Regions from separate parts of the Homo sapiens genome. Here region 1 is linked to region 2. The links are contacts of gene promoters, found by promoter capture Hi-C in human tissues and cell types (Jung and others, 2019). All regions are on one chromosome and are shown on one strand. The core of a region is centred on a gene start or on the middle of the fragment in contact, and the rest is flanking DNA. Distances in the headings are between cores, read along the strand shown. Region 1 has its middle 42 kb from the start of PXDN. Region 2 holds the start of PXDN (peroxidasin).

Evidence for each region. The method cuts DNA at HindIII sites, captures the fragments that hold promoters and counts their contacts. A contact is called where the count stands out against the background at its distance.
Region 1: a contact is called between a fragment that was not itself captured here and the fragment with the promoter of PXDN in region 2, in 1 of the 25 tissues and cell types used here (IMR-90 fibroblasts).

The regions. Positions count from the first base shown.
Region 1 is chr2:1,783,321-1,788,987 of GRCh38, reverse strand. No RefSeq gene overlaps it. Among named protein-coding and RNA genes, the nearest start is that of PXDN, 42 kb to the right of the region's middle. The HindIII fragment of the contact is 3,158 bases long and covers 2,166-5,323 here.
Region 2 is chr2:1,742,667-1,748,539 of GRCh38, reverse strand. PXDN (peroxidasin) reads left to right here and starts at 4,025. Exons shown (of 23, transcript NM_012293.3): 1 at 4,025-4,284. The coding sequence starts at 4,085. The HindIII fragment of the contact is 6,203 bases long and covers 1-4,851 here.

The DNA of each region.
Region 1 (5,667 bases), core at 2,495-4,994, 41 kb before region 2:
GCATATAGAAGTCAATGACTTTTAGAAAACTATGTGAGTGTCTCGGCATCCCCACTGGGCCGTCCTTTTCCCATTTGCTGTCGCTCCTGCCCCTCGCTGGGCTAGGCCATCTGAGAGCGAGCCTGGACGGAGGACACGGTGCCTCCCAGCACAGGGCTCCCCTGGGCAGGGAATTCTCCACCAGCAGCCCTGCAGCCACCACACTTGGGGGCATTGCCGTTGTGCATGCGTCAGCATCTCAGCGCGCCCAGGCAGGGCGGTCACGTCCTTTGTAGAGCCTTTCTTCTGGAATCCAGTCGAGGAGGCGCGCTGCTCCCAGCTGGTCCATCCCTGTCCCTGTCCCTGTCCCTGTCACCTCCTTATTACTGAGCAGACTCTCAGCCTGCCTGTCTCCCAGAGGAGGTGCACTGCTCCCAGCTGCTCCGTCCCTGTCCCTGTTCCTGTCCCTGTCACCTCTTATTACTGAGCAGTTTCTCGGCCTGCCTGTCTCCCAGAACACAGACAGTTTTCAACTGCCCAGGGCCATTGTTTTACAAAATGTCCCAAACTGGCTGCCACCTCCTGACTGATTCGGGTTAACTGGGAGACGTGTCCTTCTCCAGTTTCACGTCAGGGGAGCAGAAGGACAGGCAGCCCATCGTTGGTTACCTGGGTGTTGAAAGATGATGCCTTCTTACTTCCATGCTGTTGGCAAGGATCCCGGCAGCAAGTCACCCATAAACTTAAATTGCCCTTCAAATATAATTTAACAATGAATTACCCACTTTCACATCAACTATATTAGTTAATGTCATGGTTTAAAATTCCAAAAATACCCTCCTCTCATAGACACAATCACCCAAAATATAAAATTTGAGAAAGGGACTCTGATAATCTTAGTTAAATTTCATAATTTATTCCCAGTGGTGCCTTCAGCTGCTTCACGATTCAAGGTCCTCTGAGCACTTCTTATAAGCTAGTGTGTTCGGATGGCTCATTTGCAACAGCACTGCTTCCTGGAAGCACTGGTGATTGCAGTGAGTCCCCCTCCAGTCCTTGGTAGAGTCCTCAGAGCTGACAGAAGAGAGAGGCGACTCTCACTCCTACCACCCTGCATCTCTGTCTCTCTAGACCCGCAGGGTGGAAGAAGCTCTGTCAAAGGCTGTCTTTAGGAACAAGCCGAGTTAATGATGTGCTGGCTCAGGCCTGTCTGTTAGGATTATTAAAAGCTATTTGTCCATAGGAACAGTTTGCCTGAGAATTGATGTAAATATTTTAGAAAGCAATTTCACAATATTTTCAAAAATCTTAGAAAATTTATATTTTGCCTCAATCTCAGTCTATACTAGAAATACCAAAACAATTACAAATGTACCAAAATCAATAAAAACAACCCTAAAGTCCTATTACAGAGGAATGATTAAGCAATTCATGATCCATGAATTTTATGGAGTACTAGAGAGCTCTTAAAATAATGGCTATAAAAACCTTGTAATAAGGGGATTATGATAAAGTAGATGAAGAGTACAGAAAAAAATTACAAATGCATGAAGGGGCATTTGTTATCAACAAAAAGAGTTGGACTCTGTAAAATATTTGAAGAGATTTATTCTGAGCCAAATATGAGTGGCCATGGTCCACGACACAGCCCTCAGGAGGTGCTGAGAACATGTGCCCAAGGTGGTCAGGGCACAGATTGATTTTATACATTTTAGGGAGGCATGAGACATCAATCAAATACATTTAAGAAATACTTTGGTTTGGTCCAGAAAGGTGGGACAACTCAAAGTGGGGGCTTCCAGGCTATCGGTGAATTTAAACATTTTCTGGTTGACAATTGGTTGAGTTTGTCTAAAGACCTGGGATTGATAGAAAGGGAATGTTCAGGTTAAGATAAAGACTGTGGAAACCAAAGTTCTTGTGAAGTCTTATAGTGGCTCCCCTTAGAGACAATAGATGACTAATGTTTCCTATCAGATTTTATTTTTTTTATTTATTTATTTTTTTGAGACGGAGTCTCACATTATTGCCCAGGCTGGAGTGCAATGGCACAATCTCGGCTCACTGCAGCCTCCGCCTTCTGGGTTCACGCAATTATCCTGCCTCAGCCTCCCAAGTAGCTGGGATTACAGGTGCACACCATCACATCGGCTAATTTTTTGTATTTTTAGTAGAGACGGGCTTTCACCACGTTGGCCAGACTGATCGTGAACTCCTGACCTTGTGATCCTCCCACCTCAGCCTCCCAAAGTGCTGAGATTGGCACGTGAGCCACCTCGCCCGGCCTTCCTATTCGGATCTTAGTTAATCTCTTCAGGATTGAGAAGGCCTGGAAGAAAAAGATCCAGTTATGTTAACAGAGATTCTTTACAGATGCAAAATTTCCCCCTACAAAGAACAGCTTTGCAGGGCCATTTCAAAATATGGCAAAGATACATGTTTTGGGGTAAAATATTTTGATTTTCTTCCTTGTCTTGTAATGTTATGCCAGAGTCAGGTTGGAAAAGTAAGTCATGATATACAGGTTAAATAAAACCCATCTGATGAGAATTTATAGTTTGCAGGGCGTGACTCCCCAGACCCCTTCAATAGGAATTTGGGCAAGATAAAAAAAATCAGAGTTTAGTCCTCAGCCTTAGCAAAATAAACTTCTGAATTGGTTGAGACCTGTCTCAGATACTTACTGGTTTACACAACACAGCTGGGTAATGAGGCAGAGCTCAGGGTCTTAAGGGAGAAGCAATTTAAGTACATGAAGATAATCAGGCTTTCATCCTTTGTATTTCACTTACTATGACACACACAAGTTATCAGTCACTGTTCAGACACTGGGTCAAGTGGGAAACGACACAAAGAAAACATCCCATCCTAATAAATGTAGTTGGCATAGACCTCCTTGTATAATAATAAAACAGGCACATGGCAGCCCCTGAGCACCCTCATTTTCAGTATCAAATAGAGTGGCCTAAGGGGAAGCCTCACTGTTGGTCCTAATGAGGCCTCCCCTGTGTGAGGCCAAATGTGGGGCATGCTGGACTTTCCTCTGGATGGAGTCACCTCTGGTCTCTGACCCCATCCTTGCATCCTAGTTTCTTCTCATCCTCTTCTTGCTTTTTAATTAAATGAGTTTTTTCTTTCTAGAGCATTGTTTGTGTCCCTTCAGTTTCTTCGAATCTTCGTTGAGCAAGGTAAGATAAGGAAATAAAGAAGGATCAGTATTACCCACAAACACAGGGATGTGTGTGCAGATGGCCAGATAAAGGTGGGAAATTAATCAGAGAAGGAAAGAAGAGGGAGGGGCCGGTGATGGAATCAGGAAATTGAGAATTCCATCTTAGGGCCCGAAAGAGAGATAATCGAAGGTAAATCATGGCTTCAATACTTAGGGCCCAACAACTGTCCCCGCCTTCCACCACAGCTTTGTTTTCTGGCCGAATGCGGTGGGTGCCCGGCCTTCCTTAGGATCCGTCCCTCCCCTCGGAGGCCAGCAGCCTTGCCCAGCAACAGCAGAGAACCATGCTCTTTCCACAGGCCGCCAACAAAACATGTGAAGCATCTGATAAAAACCATGAGCGATCATAGCGTTTCCCTTTTCTAAGGAACAAATTGTTTCCTTCTCATGTGTGAGATACAAACAGCAGGCATTCAACTCATTTGCCCTCTTTGATATGTGGGGAACAAAACCACCCAAGACCGTCTGGGGAGAGAGCCAGAGACATGCCATCGTTAAACATCTCGTATGGGTCAGCCCCAAGCGAGGTGTCTTACACAGTTATCCCCACAGAAGGGGCCTCCTGACACCTGAACAGCATCCGCCCCAGGACCCAGCTTTGTCAGGTATGTCTGACGGCGGAGGCCTTTCCCCACGACCCAGCTTTGTCAGGCATGTCTGACAGCAGAGGTGTTCCTGAGAAGTGTCTCACCGCAATGAGACGGGTCATGGAGAAGCCCAATCCTCTCCTCATCTTTTCCCAAAGAGAGAATCTCTGCCCCTCTACCCAGGAGGGGACCCTGTTGGAGTGAACAGGATTCTGTCTCCCTCCTATACTAGGAGTGACCTCTTTAAAGAGAGATGTGGCCTAAGAGTATTAGAATCCAAATAAGATGTCACCTATCCAGAAAAGAAGGTTTAAAAAGAATACGGCGTTGTCATGTCCCAAGATCTTCAGAACTTAGGAGCTAGTTTAAAGTTATTTACATAGAATTTAGTGCAGAGGTTAATCGGGGGATATAGAAGTCTAGATGGAGGTTACTGACTTTACAAAGAAACTGAAAAATTGAGGTTGTGACACTACCTTAAAATGAGATCATAATTCAGGCACCATGTGTCTCCCCCCAGACGGTTTACAAAACCTCATCAAGCTGGGAAGGCCACCCTCAAAATTACTCGGGAGCCTCAAATTGTTTCCTTAGTAGGGTGTAAATAAGCAAAGACTGCCCAAATGACAACAGACAGAGGCTGCTTATCCCGAGCTCCTCAGAGTTAGGAAGCCGACCACCATCACCTGCATTTTCGCAGAGACTCCGGCAGGCTGGGCGTGGGAGCTTCCCGGGGAAGGGAAGGCACCCGGTGAGCCCCGATGGAGGCTGCTGGCCTGGGAGCTGGGGCGGCAAATGGAATCGGGGCGTCCCGTGTGAGTGTCGGGGGAGCACGTTTGTCTTTCTCCGTCTGTCCTCAATGGGACGTCAGGGCAGAAGTCGGGGCAGCTGTGAGTTGTTAAGCTCTGACCAGCTGGGGCTGATTGTTACGGCACTGTTGCTCAGCTTTCTGGATCGTCACTAGGGACAGCGATCAGGACTCCTGCACGTCTGATTTGCAGATAGCAGGCGGGCATCCTGGGCTGCTCCTTGCCGGTAAGGGCTTGGTTTCCTGTGCTGGTTGTGGGTCTGATGTCTGCTTTTACATGTGGTCGGTCCATTGTCCGCTTGTATTTTCATCTCTCAGTCGTAGGCATCTTTCAACGTTGCAAAAATTAGAATGAAGAAATAAAGCATTTTCTGTGTTAGAATTAGGCATATTTAGCATTTTAAGAATTGAAATATTTAAGAGAATCTGATCAATTAAAGTGATGCCTCAGCCGTGAGACTAAAATTTCAATTGTGTATTTTTGTTATTGGTGTAATTGTGATCCCTCCACGCGTGCACCCAGGCTCATTAAAAAAAACACAGCCCCGCTGCTTATCAGCTTTACTGTCAAAAAAAAAATACAAGGATGCAACAGACAGTGGAGCTTTTAGGGGAATGTGAGCACGTCGCACTTGTAAAATCTGTGTGGAAGCTTTAATGATGTTCAGTTCACCACTTCGTGGACGGGACCGAAGGTTAATCAAAGGAACCCTAAATCTCGATTGCTCACACCTGTCGTATTTAAATAAAAGAACACTTTTGTAAGTTGAGCTTTTAAAAGCTTAAGGAAAGTCTGGGTACTATGGCTCATGTCTATAATCCCAGCACTGTGGGAGGCCGAGGCGGGAGATCACCTGAGGTCAGGAGTTCGAGACCAGCCTGGCCAACATGGTGAAACCCCATCTCTACTAAAAATACAAAAATTAGCTGGCTGTGGTGGCTCACGCCTGTAATCTCAGCTACTCAGGAGGCTGAGGCTAGAGAATTGCTTGAGCTAGGGAGGCAGAGGTTGCAGTGAGCCGAGATCATGCCACTGCACTCCTGCCTGGCTGACAGAGGGA
Region 2 (5,873 bases), core at 2,776-5,275:
GACCATGCGATTGTAGGGTGAAGTGTTTGGGCCTTGTGCTGTCAGCCTGACCTCCCTGGAGAGTTCAACCCCATGGACAGTGTGTCATCAGTCCTGCTTGAGCCATAAAACCCTGGTGAAAACTCTGGACACCAAAGCTCAGTAGAGCTTCCCTGTTGGTGATCATGTCCCTGTGCCGGGTGGTGATGGGCCCTGATCCCACAGGCCAGGCACAGAGGCTCTGCATTTGGGACCCTCCCTGACCTCACCTGATGTATTTCATTTGGAGGTTCAGATTGGTATCAATTATAATACAGCTGTATTTGTAACCACAGCACTTTCATCTGTTGTGTGGGTGGTTCCAGCAGGAGATGGAGCTGGAGGGGGTCTCAGAAACCTATGAATCTGTAACCAGTCAGAAGTGTGGATGGCCTGGGGACCACTGGACACACAGGTAGTATTAAAGTGAGGGCAGCCTTACTGAGGTCCATCCACATCTGTAACCTGCGGGGTCTGCTCTAGCTCCAGGTACTTAACAGCAGGACTGTACTGAAGTCTGCCTAGGACTCTGTCTCCTCCTCTGCTGAATATAATGTTTGCAGCTCCCACCCAGCATTCTGCCATTATGGAAATACAGAAGAAGCATTCTCACAAGCATCCCTGTTCTACACAAACTCAAGAGTGACACGTGGTAGGCAGCCTCTAAGATGGTCCCCAGTGGTTCTGTCTCATGTTCCTTACGCTCCCAGTTGATGCTCTGCTGTGGCATGTGCTGGACGCAAGAGCATCTGTGGATGGAATCCAGCAGGAGAGATGGCGTCCAGTGTGAGCTGGAACAACAGGAGGGTGTGGAGAGGATCCAGGAGGAGTGATGGCATCTGCATCTGGACCCACTGGTGTGTGTGCACAGGATCCTGCGGGGTGATGGCTGAACCCACTGGCGTGTGTGCACAGGATCCTGCGGGGTGATGGCTGAACTCACTGGAGTGTGTGCACAGGATCCTGCAGGGGTGATGGCACCCGGAGTCTAATCTGAACCCACTGGAGTGTGTGCACAGGATCCCGCAGGGGCGATGGCACCCGGAGTCTGAAATGAATCCTCTGGAGTGCGTGGACAGGACCCTGCAGGGGTGATGGCATCGGAATCTGAACTAAACCCACTCGAATGTGTGCGCAGGATCCCGCAGGGGCGATGGCACCCGGAGTCTAATCTGAACCCACTGGAGAGTGTGCGCAGGATCCCGCAGGGGCGATGGCATATGGAGTTTCAGCTGGACCTACTCGAGTGTGTGGATAGAATCTTGCAGGAGAGACGACATGTAGAATGTAAACTGGACTGAGTGGAGTGTATGGAGAGAATCCTGCAGGTGAGATGGCGTGTGCAGTGGGAAGCGGACCCACTGGAATCTTTGGGTGGGACCCAAACTCAACCACTGCTATGTGTAGACAGGATCTTTGAGGAGAGATGGCATCTGCAGTGTGAACCGAACCCACTGGAGTGTATGGATAGCATCTTGCAGGAGTGATGACATCTGCAGTGTGATCTGGACTGCCTCGAGTGTGTGGGTAGGATCCTGCAAGAGTGATGGCATGTGGAGTGAGCACTGCATCCACAGGACTGTGTGGACAGCAGCCTTCAGCAGTGATGATGTCTGCTGTGTGAAGTGGAGCACTGTAGTGTGTGGGTAGGGTCCTGCAGGAGAGATGGCAACTGGAGTGTGAACTGCACCCACTTGAGTGAGAGGTTGGGATGCTGCAGGTGGATGGCATTTGGAGTGTGAACTGGACCCACTTGAGTGTATGGGTAGGGTCCTGCAGGAGAGATGGCAACTGGAGTGTGAACTGGACCCACTGTTGTGCCTGGAGAGGATCCTGCAGAAGACAAGGCATCTGCAGTGTAAACTGGGCCACTGGGGTGTGTAGCTAGAATCATGCTGGAGTAACGGCTTCTGGACTGTGAGCTGGCCCCATTAAAGTGTGTGTATAGGATCCTGCAAAAGTGATAGCCTCTGGAGTGTGAATGGGACCCACTGAGGTGTGTGGATAGGATACTGCAGGGGTGATGGTGTCTGCAGTGTGAGCTGCAGCCCTGGGGCATGTGGATAGGACTCTGCAAAGAGACAGCATCTGTGGTGTGAATGGCACCGGTGGAATGTGTAGAGAGGATCCTGCAAAAGTGATGTCCTCTAGAGTGTGAACTGGACCCACTGGAGGGTGTGGACATCGTCCTGCAGGAGAGATGGCATCTAGAGTGTGAATGGCACCTCCGGAGTGTGTGGATAGGAGCCCGCAGGAGAGAGCACATGTAGAGCGTGAACTGGACCCACTGAAATGTGTGGACAGGATTCTGCAGAAGATACGGCATCCGGAGTGTGAAATGCACCACTAGTGTGTGTGCATAGAATCCTGCATAAGTTTTGGCATCTACAGTGTGAACTGGAGTCACTGGAATGTGTGAATAGGATCTTGCAGGAGAGATGTCTGCAGTGTGAGCTGGACCCACTTCTGTGTGTGGATAGTATCCTGCAGGAGAGATGTTGTCTGCAGTGTGAGCTGGGCCCACCGGAGTGTGTGAATAGGATCCTGCAGGAGAAATGGAATCCGGAGTGTGAGCTGCATCCGCTGTAGAGGGTGGATAAAATCCTGCAGGAAAGATGGCATCTGGAATGTCAGCGGGAGCCACCGACCTCTGAGGATGCACCCCGCAGGTGTGATGCGGGGCCAGTTCCAAGGCTGGGTTAGGTTTTACCCTGGCTTCTGTGTTGTACTCTCATTCTCTTCCTCTTTCTTCTAATACCTGCTCTGGGAGGCATCAGGCCATGTCCAGTGTGCAGGCCATGGAGACCCACACGGCAAGGAACTGGAACCCCCTGCCAGCAGCCTCGGGGGTCCAGTCCTTAGATGGTGCCCTGTGGTCAGCAATGCACCTGTGACCTCCGGGCTATGTCTCGTGGTAGTTGCTTTTGTGTTTTAACATAGCAACAGGAAACTAGCCTATTACCCACCAATCCCATTCCAGGCTGCTTTCAAACGCAGCTCAGGCTAGAACACCAGCACGGGGACACAGCTGAGACTTGGGGTTTGCGACGGGAACACGCCCATGCTGTGCCTCTGAATCTGGCACCGTCACCCTGTGGCCTGGGTTCAGCAACTTGGCCTCACCTTCCTTGTCTGTGAAATTCAGACTGGGTCCTTGTGAGATGATTGGAGAGAATGTATGAACTATGTGAGAACGCCACCTTTGTGCGTATCTCACGCAGTGTCTTCCCTCCTTTCCAAAGTCTTCTGCTGTCTCTAGACACACCCGACGTGGGGGGGGGGGGTTCCCTGGGTCTCCTCCTAGGTCTGTCCCAGGAGGGCACGCACTGAAGGCCGCGAGAATCCCGGGGGCTGCATTGCGCCGCGCCAAGGACTCCACACAGGACCTTTCATTTTCCCAACTGTGCTGAGCCAGGCGGCCGGCAGAGAGCAGGTGGCTGACAGGCCCCGGGGAGCCGGACCGCCTGGGTCTAATCTTCCCGCAGACTCCCTTGCTGTGCGCTTTGGGGCTTGGGCCTCAGTTTCCTCAAAAGGAATGAGGGGCTTTTTTGGAACGTTAAATAATTTCCTACGTGGTTGCGGGTAGGGAGAAGGAGAAAGAGAGGAGCGCGCCTGCGCGCCTGGAATCGTGCCCGGATCAGAGCAAGCGCTCTAAAAGTGTTACAAACATTAAGGCGCCAACTAAAAAACCCGTAGTGAGCGCAGGCAGAAACCACGGGTAAGAGAAGTGGAGAAGCTTCGCGTAGGCCCCAGGGTCCCGAGCCCCGAGTCTCGAGCGCAGAATCAGGGGTGCCAATGCTCTCCTCCGCGCCCCCGAGCGCTCGCCTTGGCCATGCGGGCCGCCCCACCGGGATGAGGGCGCTCAGGCCGGACGCTGGGGCCCCGGGTTCTCGCCCCGCCCCGCCCTCGGGGATTCAGAGGGGCCGGGAGGAGCCTCGCGCATGTGCACAGCTGGCGCCCCCCGCCCCCCGCGCACAGCTGGGACGTGGGCCGCGGCCGGGCGGGCGCAGTCGGGAGCCGGCCGTGGTGGCTCCGTGCGTCCGAGCGTCCGTCCGCGCCGTCGGCCATGGCCAAGCGCTCCAGGGGCCCCGGGCGCCGCTGCCTGTTGGCGCTCGTGCTGTTCTGCGCCTGGGGGACGCTGGCCGTGGTGGCCCAGAAGCCGGGCGCAGGGTGTCCGAGCCGCTGCCTGTGCTTCCGCACCACCGTGCGCTGCATGCATCTGCTGCTGGAGGCCGTGCCCGCCGTGGCGCCGCAGACCTCCATCCTGTGAGTGCCGCGGGGGACGCCGGGGGCGCGGGGTCCGGGGCTTCGTGGAGATCCGGGAGCGCAGGGGTGATCGGAGGTGGGGGGCGCGGAGGGTGGAGGGGGCATCGGGCGCGCGGGGGGCCTGGGGACTTGGGACGCAGAAGGGAACCTCCGAAGGGGGACGTGGGGGGACCTGGGCGCGGGGACCCGCTGGGCCTTTGTTCGCCCTGCGGGAGACGCCGAGGGGCGGAACAGAGCGCTGTGCGCGCGGCCTTCGTAGCCGCCTTTGTTCGGAACTCGGAATCCCCGCAGGACTGGGAAGTTGTTGGAGCCTCCGGGGCTCCCCCCGCTCGCCTCCCGCCGCCCCCTCTCATGCTCCGCCGGCCTCCCGCTTCCCCCTGGTTCGCGGCCCCTCCTCCGCTCACCTTTCCCCCGCTCAGGACCCCTCGGTCCCCCTCCGCTCCCCGAGCGCGGCGCAGCCCCCTCCGTCCTCCCAGCCCCCTCCGCCCCGTTCCTCGTCCTGTTCGCTCCCCTCCTCCGCTCCTCTTCCTCCTCCCCTTCCTCCTCCTCCTCCCCTTCCTCCTCCTCCTCCCCTTCCTCCTCCTCCTCCCTTCCCCTCCTCCTCCCCCCCTTCCTTCTCCTCCCCCAGCCTCCGCCCTCTCCCCCTCCCCCGCCCCTTGGAGCGCAGTGCCCACCCCATCCCCCCGCGCCGGGGAAGCCTCCCCAGAGGAGCCTCAGTTCCCGCAGCCGCGGCGCCCCCGCTCCCAGTGCCCCCGCATCTGCCCGGAGCGTCCTCTCCTGGGGTGTCCTGGGGGCCCCGCGCTTCTCAGGGGCTTTTCCTGCGCCCGGAGCGAGCCGGGCGGCCGGGGTTCCCGAGAGGGGCCGCGCGGTAGTCTCGGGGCAGCCCGGGTCTAGATGGAGCCGGGACTCAGAGCGGGTTTCTGCCTCGGGCATTTCTCTTCTTTCGCTTCTAATCCACGCGAGCGTGTTCGCAGTTGCGCTATACGTTTAACCGGATGCGTTGCGTTGGGGTTGACACCCTGTCCTGCGGGCCGTCCCGCGTCACGGTCTCCACAGCAGGAATCCCCATCCCTCCGCCCCGCGGCTCCAGGTACCGAGATGCCGCCAGAGTTCGCTGCAGGCCTCCTGTGTTCTGAAGCGAGTCGGATTCAACATTTTCGGGATCTGTGAACGCGGGCTGCGTTTCAGGCGCCGACTCTAATTTAGTCCTGTAGCGACTTTTCTGCATGCCAAAAATAGTTTTCACGTTTCTTAGCTGAGCCAGAGGACTTTTTGGCACCAGCAAAGAGTCTGCAAAAGTTGTAAAAAAATTGAGTGAACAATTCAGGAAGTGGGCGGCCAGTGCGCCTACCTCCGAAACAAAGTGCTGGGACAGACCACGGCTCCCAGGGGTCGCCGAGTTTGCAGGCTGCTTCCTGGAGGCCCTGGGGCGGGGCGGGGGCCCGAGTTCCTCTCCTCCTCCGCAGAGAGACCAAGGCTTTCTTTCCAGAGCCCGTGAATGGTCAGCCCAGGCCGGACGACTCGGGGGCATCTCACTCAACAGCAGTGGACTTTTAGAATGGAGCCGGGTGAGGTTTCCCTGGGTCTGG